Regions from separate parts of the Homo sapiens genome. Here region 2 is linked to region 1. Evidence: promoter capture Hi-C in human tissues and cell types (Jung and others, 2019). All regions are on one chromosome and are shown on one strand. The core of a region is centred on a gene start or on the middle of the fragment in contact, and the rest is flanking DNA. Distances in the headings are between cores, read along the strand shown.

Region 1 (4,843 bases), core at 1,042-3,541:
GTATTAAGTGCTTTCTGGGTGTACTAGACCTTACTAAGTGGTTCGGCTGCATGAGCTTAACCCCATAAGACAGATATTATTATTAGCCCCGTTTTGACAAATGGTGAAACTGAGGCTCAGATTCATTAAATAATTTGCACATCTAGGCCAGGTGTGATGGCTCACACCTATAATCCCAGCACTTTCGGAGGCCAAGGCAGGTGGATCACTTGAGCTCAGGAGTTCAAGATCCGCCCAGGCAACATGGCAAAACCCCATCTCTACAAGAAAATACAAAAATTAGCTGGGCGTAGTGGTCACACACTTGTAGTCCCAGCTACTCGGGAGGTTGAGGTGGGAGGATCACTTGAGCCCCGGAGGCTGAGGTTGCAGTGAGCCGAGATTGCACCACTGCACTCCAGCCTGGACGACAGACAGAGCCAAACCCTGTCTCAAAATAACAATAATAATTTGCACATCTAGTAAGTTACACATCTAATAAGTGGCCACGACAGAAATTTGGACCCAGGCAATCCCAGGCTTTGGCATTCTACATAAGTGCTCTTCAAAGCAAAGTGTGCAATCCAGTGCTGGTCTGAAAACAGTTGTCAGTTCACAATCAAGTACAGAAACTGAGAGTAAAGGTTTAGAAACTTTTGTTGTTGTTTTGAGATGGAGTCTCACTCTGTCACCCGGGCTGCAGTGCGGTGGCACGATCTCGGCTCACTGCAACCTCTTTCTCCTGGGTTCAAACGATTTTCAGCCTCCTGAGTAGCTGGGATTACAGGCCTGGGCCACATGCCCGGCTAATTTTTGTATTTTAGTAGAGACAAGGTTTTGCCATATTGGCCAGGCGAAACTTACATAGCAATCTGGCAGAATGATTTTACCTCTGCTAACCCAAATAAAATGAGATTGGTTTGTATTTTGGATGTTTTCAAAATTTTATTTTTCTGGTCATTATATTAATTTTGTGCAAATATTGATACACAATTGATTGGAAATTTAAAACCAGCACTTCCACAACAGATGGTTTGAAAGGCACTGCTCTAGGCTATACTGCCTGCCAGAAAGATCCTGTCATGTATAGCTGGGATTTTACTACAAAGATCTTTGTATGTTCATCCTGGGATTTGGGATGAGAGGCATACTCCGTGTAGAGAACGTAGAAGGTAGCCTTACTGGTGGGAACCAAAAGGCCCTGACGAGATCTCCAACAGGCTATACAATGGGCCTCTGTCACCCTCTAGCTTGCTAAGCTCCCAACAGCACTAGCACAGTGCCTTGGTACCTGCGATTTCCTCTACCCAGAAGGTTCCTTCTTTTTTGTTTTTGAGACACAGTTTCGCTCTTGTTGCCCAGGCTGGAGTGCAATGGCGCGATCTTGGCTCACCGCAATCTCCACCTCCTGCGTTCAAGCGATTCTCCTGCCTCAGCCTCCCAAGTAGCTGGGATTACAGGCATGCGCCACCATGCCCAGATAATTTTGTATTTTTAGTAGAGACAGGGCTTCACCATGTTGGTCAGACGGCTCTCAAGTGATCCACTTGACCTCAAGTGATGCACCCACCTCTGCCTCCCAAAGTGCTGGGATTACAAGCGTGAGCCACCGCGCCTGGCCTCCAGAAGGTTCCTTCTATAGGCTTCACATAGCGTGCTCCTTCTTGTCATTTGGATCTCAGCTCAAATGTTACCTGCTCAGTAAAGCCTTCTGGAGCGTCCTTCTTAATCCCCAGTCTCCTATCCTGTTTCACTTCCCGCATGGCACATGTGACTCTAAAATTACACTTATTTTTTATAAGTGTCTGCGGCAGCCACTAGAATGCAGACTTCCACAGAGCAAGGCCCCTACCTTTCTCAATGATCACTGTATCCCAGCGTCTACAACACCTGTTACACAGGTTGTCATCAATGCACATGTATGGAATGCATGAAAAAAAGATCGAAAGAGATGGGATGGCACAAAAAACACAAGAAACTCCTGGCAATTTGAATTATTTCCGCTCCTGCACCTCAGTTTCCGCCTCTGTAAAATGGGCTCGCGCTGCCTTAACCCTCCTCCGCCCGCCCACTCTGACACCACCGGAAAGGATTCATTCGGGAACATTCGTGGGGCGGAGACGGGACAGGGGGCCTCGGCCTGTAGCGTCACGTCCGCCAGGGTTACCTGTGGGGCTGGGAGCGAACCGCACTCGCACCGCAACCCCGGCATCAGTGCCCAGGTTGGCCTCGCGCCGTCCTACGGGGCGGCCAGAGGCCGCCGAAGGCCTCTCGCGCTGCAGCAGTCTCCTCAGGAGCGCCGCCATGTGGGATGGAATAGCACACGTGGGCTTCTCCCTGCGTCACTTCCGGGGACTGCTTCCAGCCAATCGGCCTCCGCCACAGCCAGCGCAGCCTTGCCCCTTAAAGTCACAGGCCCCCTAGCGCGAAATCCCACGCCCCCCTGGACGGCTGCGGCCGCACTCGCCACCAGGGGGCAGAGGCCAGAGAAAGGGCTATTTCCCGGACCCGCCCCCTTCAGCTTGGGAAAGCGAAAGCGTGGCAGGGGCCGGACCTGGGAGCGGAGGAGGCGGGTCTCCATAGAAACCTCCACCTGTTTCCGGCCGGGCTGTGAGAGATTAGGGGCTGCTGCGGGGGCCAATCTCAGCCAGCTCGCCTCTTCCCAGCGGCCTCTGCGGGAGCGGTGGGTGTTGTACACAATCATCATGGCGGCGGCCGGGGCCCCGGATGGTGAGTGCGGCGGGGGTGGCGGGCGCCGGGCCGGGGCTGAGGTTGCGGTCGCTCCTCTGGGGGATGCGGCCCGGCCCGGGAGGGAGAACCGCGGCTCGGGAACGGAGGTCCGGCGGCGCCCGGACAGCGTCCGTTCCCAAGCCCAGCCCGCGGCGAGCGCCCACCCCCTAACCCCCTTGCAGGCATGGAGGAACCTGGCATGGACACGGAGGCCGAGACTGTGGCTACTGAGGCTCCCGCGCGGCCCGTCAACTGCCTGGAGGCTGAAGCCGCGGCGGGGGCGGCGGCCGAGGACTCCGGCGCCGCACGAGGCAGCCTGCAGCCGGCCCCGGCCCAGCCCCCTGGGGACCCCGCAGCCCAGGCCTCGGTCAGCAACGGCGAAGACGCGGGCGGCGGCGCGGGCAGGGAGCTGGTGGACTTGAAGATCATCTGGAATAAGACCAAGCATGACGTGAAGTTCCCCCTGGACAGCACAGGCTCCGAGCTGAAACAGAAGATCCACTCGATTACAGGTAATTCCTGTGGCGCTGACAGCCAGTCTTCCCCACCCCGCCTCCTGATGGCCCTTGCACCCTACTAGGCACCTGGTGGCTTTCCTTGCATCAGGTCCCCCCATCCTTACAGCAGTCTTCTGAAGGATACTTGGATGCCCATTACTCAGCTGGGGAAAGAGACTCAAGTTTATAGAGCTAGTAAGTTGCAGAGCTGGGATTAAAGCCGAAGTCTGACGTTTAGGCCCCAGTTTCTCATTGATGTTGCTCTAACATCTCTAATTAAAAAATCACCTAAGGCGCTTGTTTTACAGCTTCTGGGCCCTTTCCCAGGAGATTCTGATTCAGTGGGTCTGGGATGTAGCCAGGAATTTATTTTTAGCAAATATCTTAGGTAATTCTTCTAAGTGAAGTTTAGGAAACGCTGCTATTGACTTTGATGCTGGTTCTTCACAGTCGATTCTGTTTCTTAATTTTACCTTGTTCATAGCTCTTTGCCATCTGAGATTTCTTTTCTTTTTCCTATTTTTTTTTTTTTTTGAGACGGAGTCTTGCTCTGTTGCCCAGGCTGGAGTGTACTGGCACCATCTTGGCTCACTGCAGCCTCCGCCTCCCAGGTTCAAGCGATTCTCCTGCCTCAGCCTCCCGAGTAGCTGGGATTACAGGTGCCCGCTACCCCGCCGGGCTAGTTTTTTTTATTTTATCCACCCACCTCGGCCTCCCGAAGTGCTGGGATTACAGGCATAAGCCATCACTCCTGGCCTTGAACTTTTTTTTTTTTTTAAAGCTTTCTACATGTAGCCTTGTAATCTCCATTAAGAACAGGAGTTTTGTCCCTATTGGCTTCTGTAGCTCTGATGCCTGTGGATTCTCACTTAATATGTGAATGATTTAGATGACTGAGGAACAACTTGGAAAGAATGAGAGCTAGTACTTACTGAACAATTATTCAATGCTAGCCACCGTACTAAATGCCCCGCATTGGTCTCTTAATCCTTGAAACAGGTCTGTACAGAAGGACTTACTCTAATAAATCTTCTACAGTTCTAGAAACTGAGGTTCAGAGGTTGTAAATCTCCCAAGTTCACAAAGCTAATAGGTGGTGGAGGCAGTATTCACTTTTTGGTCTGTTACCAAAGAGCTGTGTAGTATCCATACATTTTTCTGTCCTTCCTTCCTTTCACTGTCCACCTTCTACCTTTTCCCAAGGTCTCCCGCCTGCCATGCAGAAAGTCATGTATAAGGGACTCGTCCCCGAGGATAAAACATTGAGAGAAATAAAAGTGACCAGTGGGGCCAAGATCATGGTGGTTGGCTCCACCATCAATGATGTTTTAGCAGTAAACACACCCAAAGATGCTGCGCAGCAGGATGCAAAGGCCGAAGAGAACAAGAAGGAGCCTCTCTGCAGGCAGAAAGTGAGTCCATCTTGTGCTTCTTGGTCTTGAGAAATTTGAGGCTTTGTCCTCTTGAGCCGTGGCTGGTTATATTCTCCCTAGAATAAGCTCCTTTTTGGACAGGGCCCATGATGGAAATTTATGGCAGCAGTTGGGTGCCGCAGAGTGGAGGTGACAACTACCTGAGATTTGCAACTTTGTCTCATCTGGCGGGTCAGTGTGTCTCAAGTCTACCTACTTTAGGAT
Region 2 (4,843 bases), core at 1,337-3,836, 1.0 Mb after region 1:
AGAATATATTCATCAAGCATAATTAGTGCCCATCTTAGGAGATTTAGAGTCACGTGGATTGTACACATTCACAAAAGCAAAGTAAATAGAGGCGCTAAGCCAAATTTTTCTTATCCTGATTAGTAAAGTAAATGTATAGTTTTGGTAATGGAAGCGAACTCTAATCAAGAATGGATGGCTGTTTCCATATTCCCCAGTCTTGTTTTTAGTCATCCATCCATGTTGATACCCCAAAGCTGGATGTTCTTCTTGCTAACTAAATATCAGAGTGGTATTTTATAGGATTCTTTAACTTCAAAAAGCTAATATAATTGGCATAAAAGATTTTAGATCCTTGCTTCCCAAAACAAGACCCCTAATTAGGTACAGGGAGGTGGGTTAATTTTAATGTCTACGGTCTGCATCAGTCCGTTTTGTGAGGACTTTAAGTGGCAGACTTTTTTTTACCATTAGTATCTTACCAAGAGTCACTATTTTTATTGATGTTTAGTAATACAAATTCCTAATCATTTTTAAACCATTCTTTGTCAACATTTTTTGCTCATTTCTGAACACCTTGCTATATGTAGGAAACATTTGTTTGCTTTTCTAAATTTGAGGTAAATTTGACTTCTTTGTGGACTATAAGATATTTAGGGGCAATAGTGATTACTTGGTGGTAAAAAGGTGATTTAGGTGCAGTTGCATATCTAAAACCACTTCAAAGTCAATAAATACATAATACTAATAAGTTAGCAGAAAGCTTAAAAGCACACAAAAGCCCAGCATAAAAACAAAAAGGATACTATATCTTAAGTGTTAGGAGTGGGAAGATTTTTTTTTTATTCTTAAGTTTTTTAGTTCCAGTGGTAAGAAAGTTAATATAATTGTTTTCTTTCCAAGGAAATCATCAGTATTTATATTCTATTCTAGATAGTAATGGGCTATTTTTAAAGACTATTTGTTTTATTGGTTAGAATGTAGTATAGATGATGGTTGACAGCAATTTGTCTAGTCCTTGTTACTTAAAATCAAGTAACTTCTGGTTGGTATAAAATCTTTAAAATAGATTGAGTAGGTCAGAACTTATTTTAGATAAAAAGAGATATGTATTATTTAGAGGTTTTTTTCTACTTACCACTTGAGATTAGTTCTTAAAGGAAAAAAATACTTAAAAGCTGGACAAAAATGATAACCCATTGGCAAATTATGTAGATATGCATTAAGTTATAGGGTTAGTGCATCATGAACTCTTTTATAGTCAGTTCCTTAATGTGGAGCAAAGAACCTTTTGTCTGAATAAACATCCCAGTAATATCCATCAAATTAACTTTTAAAACCCTAAGATATTTGTGAGATGTGTCTTATATTTAGCCAACATTATTTTTTATTTACATTTATTGAATCCCTACTGTGTGGGCATTGGCTAAGAACTTCATATTGAGACTGGTTACATTTGTCTTTGGGGCTCTTAAGTCATGTTGCTTTTATTTTAAAACTTTTGGTTCTCTGGAACAGAATACCTGATGAAGACTTTTTTCTTTGATCCAGACATCTTGTTACATTCTCCATTTTAAATGAAGAGTTCTGACCTTACGACATGTTAACTAAGCAACCCACTTACTACGTAGGAAGCTGTAGGGAAATCATATCTTCAAGATTGTTTGCTAAAGATTTTTTTAAAAACTGATATTAAAATCATTTCAGAGGATCAAATGAAAAAAATTAGTGTTCAATTTAAAATACATTTTTATTTTTATTTTATTTTGAAAGAGAAATGTTTTATTCCTCTTTGCACAGAACAGTTTATGAAGGTGGCTCTCTCCTGACTCCATACATCTTTTACACAAAGATGCCTCTTCAAATATGCCCAGTTATCTCCCCCTCTTCAGTGTTAGAGAATTGGCAGTTAGTGAGTGGGGCAGAATGCTTAAGGCTCATTAAAATACCTTTTTTAAAGCCCTCTTATATCCTTTATGTACACTTGCTCTGTGTGATTAAATTAACTTTCTTCAAATATTAGAGTCCATCATAATAAGTGACAGCTCTGTTGGCCTTCTCCTCAGGGTGCCATTGTTTTCCCTTTTTTTGACTTAACATCTTTGCCCTGAGAAAGCTGTGGTTTCTTTGACAAGAAGCTATTACTCTTTGTATGAGAGAATAAACAAACTTACTCAGACTGAAGAGTATGTTTTCAAAAATTAAAGAAGTAGCAATTATATGGGAGCTGTTATTTATTAAAGCAATTATCTGAGCCCTTAAAGGGCTGTTTGTTTTTACAATGTTGTATAATGGCCTTGCAGGAAAATTAGATTTCTTATTCTCTCTTCCAGTGTACATTGTCTTGAGTATTGTCACATTTAGAGACCATAGGGAGATATGGGACTCCTAGTATTCAGTCGACACTCTGAACAGATTTTCTGTGTGATACATTTTTTCATTTTAATTGAGTCCCCTCTTCCTCCCCTCCAACTGATAGCTTTTTATAACTGTGTGAAATATCTAGAGAAGAATGAAGTAGGCTGAGCTACATTTTCAAGCTTAACATTCTTTAGAAAACTAAGAAAATGCCCAATATTTCAACATTAAGGTGTCAATAGGGGCTAAATGATCACTTTAAGATGTTTTCAGTTTGGAACTTGAATGTGTGTTTAATTTTTTGTGAACAGATTGATGACTCTTCCGCGTCTATTTCTCTGGCCCAGCTTACAAAGGTATATATATATATATATTCTTGAAAATATAAGTTTTTTTCTAACATCATATTTTTTTATGTGGAACGGTTTTTTAAGAGGGGTTGGGGGAGGACATATTTTGCAAAAGCATTGTACATATTATTACTATCCTGTAAAGAGTAGTTGCTGTTTTGAGAAGATAGGGGAATACTTTGTCAGCCTCAGCGTATTGGAGTATTGTTCATCTTCAAGACAGAAGAAACACTTGAAGCTACACTTAATTATTTTTTTTCCCTCATACATTTTGTTTAATTATACATTGGAAACTAACAAGGTTCTGGAGGAATTTCCTGGTTTTGGCTATAAATTATGTGGACCTTTTTTAAGCAGCCAAAACAGAAGATTTCCTTTACACGGACGATTGCATGGTTATTTCTTGAATATTTGACTTGATCCCATGAAGGTCAATATTTTAAATGTGATGCAGTTGTTTCTTTATGCTATAGACTTGTAGTCTGTCTGCATTAGGAAAAGTTTTGAACAACCTAATTTGTTTGAACACAGACTACATGAATTGTGTAAGTGTGTAAAGCTGTTTGCAGGAATATACCAATGTGTATGTTTGGCAGAGGGGCAAATTGTTACCTCCTGAATCACTGTATATGCCATGTTTTGCGATAAGATTGCTTGCATTTTCTGCTCAACAATGTGTATCTTCTGTTTGGGAAAGCACTAGTGATGGATTACTTTTTAAAGCAATACATTTAGCTTGCAAATTGTGCCTTTAAAAAAAAAAATAGGCAGACTTTTGAGGGCCAAGAAGGAAGCTGTCCAGTTTTCCAAAAATCCTTTTTCCCTGCTATCAGAAATGTGAAACCAAATTTAGCAACCAAGATTAATGAAAAGATGGGTTTTCCATTAGTGCTGTCCCTATCTTGTTCTTGGCTTTGTTATGTCCTTTCCCCTAGACTGTATCCCGACAAAATGTCCTAGTAACAAATTGCTTTTTAAGCTCCTGTTCTGGGAAAACTAAGCATTAAAATTGATTATTCTAAAACATAAAGTGGACTAAAGCCATCCTATTTTATAATTTTCTAATGCAAAGTGGTTTAGTATAGAGTTAACACTTAGAAGTTTATAGTTTACTGTTTTTATTCTTATGTACTGTAAGGACCATATTTGAGTTTTTGGTCTATTCCTACCATTGTTTCTTTGTGGGGAGGAGTTGGGGCGGTTTGGGGGATTGGTTTTTTTTTTTTGTTTTTTTAAACTACAGGTATTTGTAAAACAATGTTTGGGTTCAAACAAATTAGTTGTTAAACATCTGTAATCCAGTTTTCTGTAAATGTTGCTGTTGTTCTAAGCTCTGTTAATGTTAAGCATTCTTTGTATATAAAATTACAATAAAATGTTAAAACTGGTTGCTTGTTTTGTGGATGAATGTAAAGACAAACCCCAATGAATGGCTGATATGAGTGCTAAATGCCTGAAGATTCAACTTAACTAGAAATCACTCCCTTAGACCCTGCTTACATCTAGACCTTGTATATCATACCTCAAAGATGAAATTCATAAAACTTATCTGAAGAGTTTAATTTAAAATTATAATGCTCAATGCACATCTTTTGCACTTGAGTTGAAACTAACATCACTACCTAAAGAGCCTTCTACTTCTAATATCTGCTGCATAATACGTTCAGTCATTCTACCCCCATCCCTACCTCCACATTGTAAGTATAAATTAGTCTTAATGCTCTGACACTTGAATTATTTTTAAAACATCAAGTGTTTCTATTCTAACTTAATATCAGTCTTTAACTTGTAGAAAAGTAGTATGCAAGTCTTAATGTAAGGTACAAACAGGGTCTAAGGTTTGAGTGCCCCCAGAATGACTTTCTTCAGCCTTGCAGACACCTAAACATCATGTAATTACCTAAGGAATTCCCAAGTGCCTCTTCCAGGTTATACGTGTAAATAGCTGTTTTTATGCAAGATTAGTTAGATACTGCTCTTTACAGGATGAGTGGTGTTGTCTTTGGCTGTGTGGTCTTAAATGTGTTTCTAATGTGTGTGTCAAATAATTACCTGTTAAACAGACTGCCAATCTGGCTGAAGCCAATGCTTCTGAAGAAGATAAAATTAAAGCAATGATGTCGCAATCTGGCCATGAATACGACCCAATCAAGTAA

What was found. The method cuts DNA at HindIII sites, captures the fragments that hold promoters and counts their contacts. A contact is called where the count stands out against the background at its distance.
Region 2: a contact is called between a fragment that was not itself captured here and the fragment with the promoter of EARS2 in region 1, in 1 of the 25 tissues and cell types used here (dorsolateral prefrontal cortex).

What each region holds. Positions count from the first base shown.
Region 1 is chr16:23,555,059-23,559,901 of GRCh38, forward strand. It overlaps EARS2 (glutamyl-tRNA synthetase 2, mitochondrial), which reads right to left and starts at 2,292. Exons shown (of 9, transcript NM_001083614.2): 1 at 2,147-2,292. The coding sequence starts at 2,285. It overlaps UBFD1 (ubiquitin family domain containing 1), which reads left to right and starts at 2,669. Exons shown (of 7, transcript NM_019116.3): 1 at 2,669-2,709; 2 at 2,892-3,221; 3 at 4,410-4,618. The coding sequence starts at 2,685. RefSeq lists enhancers at 977-1,621, 1,982-2,261, 2,266-2,910, 2,452-2,651, 2,911-3,554 and silencers at 2,722-2,811, 2,912-3,091. The HindIII fragment of the contact is 16,025 bases long and covers 1-4,843 here.
Region 2 is chr16:24,550,865-24,555,707 of GRCh38, forward strand. RBBP6 (RB binding protein 6, ubiquitin ligase) reads left to right here. Exons shown (of 18, transcript NM_006910.5): 4 at 2,649-2,693; 5 at 4,751-4,839. Among named protein-coding and RNA genes, the nearest start is that of RBBP6, 14 kb to the left of the region's middle. The HindIII fragment of the contact is 7,515 bases long and covers 1-4,843 here.